2 separate regions of the Homo sapiens genome follow, and region 1 is linked to region 2. The links are contacts of gene promoters, found by promoter capture Hi-C in human tissues and cell types (Jung and others, 2019). All regions are on one chromosome and are shown on one strand. Each heading gives the region's core, a stretch centred on a gene start or on the middle of the fragment in contact. The rest is flanking DNA. Distances are from core to core; before and after follow the strand shown.

What was found. The method cuts DNA at HindIII sites, captures the fragments that hold promoters and counts their contacts. A contact is called where the count stands out against the background at its distance.
Region 1: a contact is called between the fragment with the promoter of SLX4 here and a fragment that was not itself captured in region 2, in 1 of the 25 tissues and cell types used here (dorsolateral prefrontal cortex).

The regions. Positions count from the first base shown.
Region 1 is chr16:3,609,229-3,612,890 of GRCh38, reverse strand. It overlaps SLX4 (SLX4 structure-specific endonuclease subunit), which reads left to right and starts at 1,285. Exons shown (of 15, transcript NM_032444.4): 1 at 1,285-1,331; 2 at 3,325-3,662. It also overlaps a transcript of DNASE1 not described here. RefSeq lists an enhancer at 968-1,037 and a silencer at 1,078-1,427. The HindIII fragment of the contact is 5,274 bases long and covers 1-3,662 here.
Region 2 is chr16:4,092,123-4,096,128 of GRCh38, reverse strand. The region is part of intron 2 of ADCY9 (adenylate cyclase 9); the gene reads left to right. Among named protein-coding and RNA genes, the nearest start is that of ADCY9, 22 kb to the left of the region's middle. RefSeq lists a silencer at 1,687-1,981. The HindIII fragment of the contact is 3,047 bases long and covers 202-3,248 here.

The DNA of each region.
Region 1 (3,662 bases), core at 36-2,535, 480 kb after region 2:
CAGAAACCGGCAAATCGTTAACAACTGCGTCTTGACTATGCTCCATATTTCTCCATTCTTTTCGCTCCACCTCCTAATTCGGGCCGCTCTCACTTTTCATCTAGATTATGTAATAGCCTCCTAATGGGTGTCCTTGCCTCATCTGTTCTCACTGTAATTAGGCCTTTAAAAACAAAATCTTACGCCGGGCGTGGTGGCTCACGCCTGTAATCTCAGCGCTTTGGGAGGCCGAGGCGGGAGGATCTCTTGCGGCCAGGGCTCGAGACCAGCCTGGGCAACATAGTGAGACTCCCCCCCCCGCCCCCACCGCCCGTCTCTACTTAAAAAAAAAAAAAAAAAAAGCCGTGAGCGGTGGCTCACGCCTGTAATCCCACCACTTTGGGAGGCCGAGGCGGGCGGATCACCTGAGGTCAGGAGTTGGAGACCAGCCTGGGCAACAGAGTGAAACCTAGTCTCTACTAAAAACACAAAAATTAGCTGGGCGTGGTGACTGGCGCCTGTAATCCCAGCTACTTGGGAAGGTGAGGCACAAGAACCGCTCGAACCCGGGAGACAGAGGTTGCAGTGAGCCGAGATCGCGCCACTGCACCCCAGCCTGGGCAACAAGAGCAAAACCCCGTCTCAAAAAACAAACAACAAAAAACCTTCAATGGCTCCCGACGACCCCAAGTTGAAGCTCAAACCCTTAATACGATGTGTAAAGTCCCTCAAATACCAAGCCATGGCAAACCTCTGCTACCTTTCCCCCAGGCCCTGGCTGGCTTCACCCTAGCCCTGCGGAAGAGCTCGGGCATCCCCTCCAGGCACCTGAAGCGCGGCAGAATCCCCTCTTCACGTAGCTAACCCTCCCCGACCTCCAGGCCTCGACTCTCACGCCACCCCACCTGAGAGGAAGCTTCTCGGGCCCCCAGGCCAGATTTGGTGCCTCTCCCGGTCCCCCTCACACCGTCCACTCTCCGCTCCACAGGCAGGTATGCCCAGAGGGGGCCGCCGTTGTATCCGCGAACATTTCCTGAGCCAGCTGGGGAGGAACCAGACTTTATCTCACAGCTGCCACAGTGCCTTAAACTCGCCCTAACTCTTTCTCAAAAACTAACAGACTCCACCTGAAGCAAGCGCCGCTTCCGCCTCGCCCCGCCTCCTGCCGACCGGAAGCGCTGGCCGCCGCGGGCCCGCGCCCGGCGCCGCAGAGGAAGACCGGAAGCGAGGCTGCCGCACCACCGCGCGCGCCCGCTCTGCGCCTGCGCGCAGGCAATGCTCCGCGGGGGCGCGGGCGGCGCATGCGCAGGCGCGCGAGTCTCCGTTAAGAAGGTGCCGCGGCGGCGCCGGAGGTAGGAGGAGCCGGGCTGTGGGGCTGGGAGTCGGCACCCGGGAGGCGGAGGTCCTGTCATTTCGGGCCGTTCTCTCTTTCCTAAGGGAGAAGAGCCTTTCTCGCCCGTCTCCCTCGCTGGCTCCGTGGCCTCGGCAGGCCCGCAGCCCCGACGGAGAGGCAGGAGCCGCACTCGGGTGGAGAGGGGCCGGGGCCCGCCTGGAGGGAGGAGGGTGGCGGATCCGGATCCCCACGGTGGTCTCCGTCCGGGCCAGTCCGGGGATCGGGGTTCTCCGTCTGACTTTAGAGCCGTTAGAGTCTTTGGCAGCCCTTTTCCCAGACGGGGAACCCCTCAGCCCCTTTCCGTAGGTCGCCGGGTTGGGGGAAGCGGGAGGGTCCGCCCCTTACCGATCCATTCATTCATCCCTCGCCTGCTGTGAGCCGTGGGCTGCGGTAGGTACGAAGCAAGGAGGCACAAGTCCCCTTCCCTCTGGAAACCTGCAGGCTTGCAGGATCCGTTATGTCATTCAGTAAATCTTGACTGGGCACCTATAGGAGGAGATAGACTGTTGTGAGGTTCATATCAACAGAGATGCGGAGATCAACACAGTTGTGGAGGTGGAATTTGTTCCAGCCGCTCCCCGCATCCAACAGGATAAAATTCACTTTGCCTAGCCTGACCTTCCAGGCCCTTGTGAGCCAATCCTTTCCTCTCCCCGCAGCGTTTTCTCCTACACCTTTCTCTCTACTCCCATTATACCGAACTCTTTGCAATTCATGAATTCAACAAGTAGTTGTGGAGCACTTATTTCAAGTCAGGCACCAGATCAGCCAAAGAGGTTGCAAAGTAATAGATGGATCTCTACCCTCCTGAAGTGTTGAGCTTAATGGGGGACAGATAATAAGCCGATGAATAAAAACACAAGAGCGGATAGTTTCGAACCACACTTCCTGGGTTTGATCCCAGCCCTGCCACTGTGAAAGCTGTTCCTGAACTGGCTTTAGGCCAGTTCCTCATTCTGCTTGCGCGTGTTTCCTTGCCGTAAAGACAGGATGACAAGAGATTCCACCATATAGGCTTCTTGTAAGGATTAAACGAGTTTGACTTGGAAAGCAATTGGAACAGTGCTTGGCACACAGTAAGCATTCGATAGATATTACCTGTTTCATATGATGATAACCTATGACAGATGCCATTGTGAAAACAGTGGGCGATGATAGGGATTAACGGGGATGGAGACGGTCCATAAAGGATTAGAGGACACTTCTCTAAGGGGAAGACACAGAAGAGAATGCGCCAGCCATACAAAGTAGATTCTAGGTAGGAGTATTTTCAGCTCTGGAAAACAAAATGATTAATTAGATTCCTTGGACAGTGGAGATTGCATTATTGTATTTGAAAGGAATAACTTTCTGCCATTGGGTCATTCAGTTTTGATTTTTGAACCCCACTTAGCTGTGTGCCAAAGTAAACAACCATGCTCACGAGGCCCAGCCTTTGCACACAGGCGACATTCCAGTCATCCAGGTTTGGAGAGCCTTGCTGGGTTGAGAAGATAAGTAAAAGTGACCTTTTCTCTCCTGAGTGTTCATGAGAATATAATGTCTCTTTCTGTCTCTTATGTTGCAGTATTTACAGAAAGAGCCTCTTTAACAGCCAGGGGTCTTAGATCAGTGTAGGAGATAGTTTTCCTAGATTTGGGGATCATCCTGTTTCTGTGGTGACTGCCTTTTATGGGGTTTGCTCCCTAAATTTCAGTTAAGAAAACACTCTCCCAAGATGCACATATTTTAATACCTGTGGAAGAACAACATGCTTTGACAGGTTTCTAGGTCCTTTTGTTGTGATGTCTGATAGGACGGTTAGACCATGTTAACCAGGCTGGACTGAGTATTTGACAGTATTGTTACTCCGAAGACTTTTCCCTCACCCCACATGCCCTTGTCCCTCCCTGGAAGAACTGGCATAAAATGACAATGTCTGATTACACTTACATGCTTTTGGTTTTCCACAGATGTGTAATTAAGTGAACCATATATGTTTCATCATCATGGAGATCTTGGAGAATTATCTGAGCACCAGGTTCATATGTATTCGATCTCAGAGGCATCTATTGGACAACAAAACACTCTTTCAGTTGTGAACTTTATTTATTTATTATTATTATTTTTTGAGACAGAGTTTTGCTCTTGTTGCCCAGGTTAGAGTGCAGTGGCACGATCTCGGCTCACTGCAATCTCCGCCTCCCAGGTTCAAGCGATTCTCTTGCCTCTGCCTCCCGAGTAGCTGGGATTACAGGCATCTGCTACCACGCCTGGCCAATTTTTTGTATTTTCAGTTGAAACGAGGTTT
Region 2 (4,006 bases), core at 476-2,975:
ATAAAAGATTCTTTACTTCCTTTAAATATAAATACGTAAGATTGAGTTCTAGAAGTATAATTTACACATGGTTTCCTGAGGATCACGTTTCCTGAATAAAGCAGGGTATCGTTAGAGGAACCCCATTTGATTTTTTTTTTTTTTTTTTTTTTGAGATAGAGTCTTGCTCTGTCACCCAGGGTAGAGTGCAGTGGCGTGATCTCAGCTCACTGCAAACTCCGCCTCCTGGGTTCAAGTGAGTCTTGTGCCTCAGCCTCTCGAGTAGCTGGGACTATAGTCATGCAACATCATGCCCGTCTAATTTTTGTGTATTTTGTAGAGATGGGGTTTCATCATGTTGCCCAGGCTGGTCTTGAACTCCTGAGCTCAAGCAATCCAGCTGCCTTGGCCTCCTAAAGTGCTGTGATTACAGGCGTGACCCATGGTGCCTGGTCTGGGAATCCTGTTTGATTTTGAAAGTCTGAGAAACACTTTTGAAATGGCTTGGAGAAAATGTGAAGTGAATAATTATTATTTTTTTAATGTGCTTCAGTTCCCATGTGAACATTATTTTAGAGAGAGATTGGAAGGTTAGTTGCCAGTAAAATGAATTTCACTGTGTTGGCAAGTTTTTCACTCGTAGGACTGAGTGAATCCTGGACTGACAGTGTTCTTACCGATGATTCTGTTGAGGAAGGACTTGCTTGCTCTTGTTGCTCTTGACGGTGAGCTTCTGGATCTACTGGCCCTATATTGAGTGTGCAAGGGGACGTGTTAGTCCTCTAGTTGTCCCCCACATTAATGCATCTGGAAAGTGTCTACCTTAGATGTTGTAATTAGAAATTAGAGGGCTGGGCGCGGTGGCTCACGCCTGTAATCGCAGCACTTTGGGAGGCTGAGGCATGTGGATCACCTGAGATCAGGAGTTCGAGATCAGCCTGGCCAACGTCCGAAACCCTGTCTCTACTAAAAATACAAAAATTAGCCGGGCATGGTGGTGCGCACCTGTAATCCCAGTTACTCAGAGGCTGAGACAGGAGAATCGCTTGAACCTGGTAAGTAGAGGTTGCAGTGAGCTGAGATTGCGCCATTGCACTCCAGCCTAGGTGACAGAGACTGTCTCAAAAAAAAAAAAAAAAAAATTAAATGTCATCAACATTGAAAGGAAACTCTTGGATTTTGTCAAAGATTTATAAAAAGTTTTGAATGATTTTATTTTTTTCATTCAGAAGCATAATTTCCCTCTTAAAATCCCTGATGTGGATCATTTGGTTCCCTGTCATTTCCATTTTCTTTGTTCAGAGTGTCTCTTCTGGATCTCCTGAGTTTCTGTGTGTGTTTTCTTCCTTTTTGCTCAAATGATGAGCACACATGAAAGCTTTTCCTCCTTTGCCTGGGTGAGGCGGTGTTCCAGGTGTGATCTGCAGTGCCTGATTATTATATTGTATTAATCTCCTCAATTTTATTTTCTGGCTTGTCTGCATTTTTCCTTTTCTTTCTTCTCCCTTTTTTTTTTCTTATTAGAGATGGGGGTCTTGCTGTGTTGCGGGGCCTCGAGCGATCGTCCCACTTTGGCCTCCCAAAGTGCTAGGATTACGGGCGTGAGCCACAGCGCCTGGCCTCCTTTTCTTTATAGTAATTTGAATGTGGTGATTTTAATCCTCCATGGTTTTCTTATCCTTCCTCAACAAACAGCAAAGAGGCTGCTGGAAAGCCACATGACATTTGCTGTGATTTGCACGGCTGATGGGAAAACACTACTTGGTTCTGAAGGACAGGGTTGTCATTGGATACCTTTGCCCTCTGACCCGAGTGAGAATCTCACCTGGACAAAGACCCGAGTTGTGAAATCACACAGAGAAAGTGTGATTCCGAACCTGCTGCTGTCCTGTGCTTCCTGAGGACAAGTGAGTGACTGACTCCGTGTGCCAGGAACTGCAGGAGGTTAAAAACTTTCAGAACTACCATGCAAATAAGAAATTTCAAAGGACTTTTCTCTAACACACATTTCATAGTGAACGTCTCAGCTGGATTAACATAATTAACGCTGTGTTCTTTCTGGCTCCTGAAAGAAATTGTGATTAGGAACACTTTCAGGGCTGATGAGTCTAAGGTATCAACTTTGTCCCTTCTGCCACTTGAAGTTCAAATGGAAATGTTTGCTTTCATAGCTCCAGTCATGATGTTACTGTATTTAGTAGCTATTAAGTTTCCAATTCCATAGACTCCTGGGAGAAGTTCCAGTTCGCACTAAGGCTTCTGTTGCATTTAGCACCACTGCCTATGGTGTGTGGAGCTTTCCTGAACAAGTAATAGCAGCAAGGTTCTTAGCTTAGTAATAATTTTAAGCTATTCTTTGATTTTTTAAACAATTAATTAATTAATTATTTTGAGACAGCGTCTGGCTCTGTCGCCCAGGCTGGAGTGCAGTGACGTGATCTCAGCTCATTGCAGCCTCCGCCTCCTGGGCTCAAGTGATATTCTCCAGCTTCAGCCTCCTGAGTAGCTGGGACTGCAGGCGCATGCCAACACGACTGACTAATTTTTGTATTTTTTGTAGAGACAAAAATACTTTTTTTATGTAGAGACAAAAAAAAAGTTGAATGATAAAATCTTTTATTACTTAATAATATACTTTGATTGAGATTTAGCCATTTCATTTTCACTAGTGTCCAGACGTTTTCCTGAAAGGCGTGATTCCATGAGATTTAATACTGAATTATAATTTGATGTAAATGTTTTATATAATCAGTTGTTTGTTTTTAAACAGTAGCCTCTTTTCTAGGCCTGCTCTAGGTTGATTAAATATTAAGTTTTCTGATCAGCCAGATCCTTAATAGAGAGCTTCGGGGACAGCAAATGGTTGAATATGAAACCAACCTCATTTGCCATGTTGTTAGATATAAATGTCAGTGATAGCACTTTCTGGATGGTTGAGTTTTCTGAAGAGCAGAGGATTTTCTCTTTTAATCAATCAGATAATTTTCTGTTTTAACCAATTCAAACATTTGATTTTATGTTTCTGAAATAGATAAAGCACTTTCATAAAAATGGACTGTGCCAAATAAGAGGTAATTTTCTTGATGACTCAGTTATTTTTGCCTCTTGTTATTTGGCTTTTACTAATATAGCAATTTCTCTATAAAAATAGGAATCTTTGCTTTTTTAAAAAAACTGAGATCATTCTGTTTTTCCAGTTCTTACATTTTAAAAAATAATTTTTTTGGCTTCTTTTGCTATCCATGTATGTAGCTGTTGGTGTGCTTTCCTGTATCACATTTGCTCCTGGTTTTTACTTCGTTACATTAAAAAACCAAACCAACAAGTAATTAAGCTCGTTCAGCCTGCAGATATCGTTTGATGGAAAGGGCTAAGGAGTCAGCCTTTGTGCAGGTTTTTAGTTGTCAGCTATAGTCTGAGTAAGTGAGGTTGCTAGGTACAGGCGTTCAGGATGTGTAAGATGTTATTACAGTTATTTTTAGTGTATTATTAAGGGGGAGGAGGAGAAAGAGAAATTTGAATCAAATTTGTGTCTTATTAAATAGGACACGTTTTCCATAAGACCAAAAGGGCATTTCTTTTGCTTATGTACTAGAAATAGAAAATGGAAATTAGATATTAGATTGTATAATCGAAAGTCAATTAGAATTAATGAACAATTCTATAACTAGTTATACTGTAAGCTAAAATGTGAATGTTAAATTAGGGAAGTATTGATTTTTATGAAAATTTACCAGAATTTCAGGAAAGGACTTTGCTTACTTTCCCAAGAAACGTCTGGTAGGAGTCACTGTAGAAATTTGGTGTGTTCTGTACAACACTGCCCAGGAGGAACTGGCCACATTTCTTCCTACTTGGTTCTTTTGTTTGTTTGTTTTTTGAGACAGGGTCTTGCTCTGTTGCCTAGACCGGAGTGCAGTGGCACGATCTCAGCTCACTGCAACCTCCGTTTCCTGGATTCAGGCAATTCTCGTGCCTCAGCCTCCCAAGTACCGGTGATTACAGGCACCCGCCACCACACCTGTCT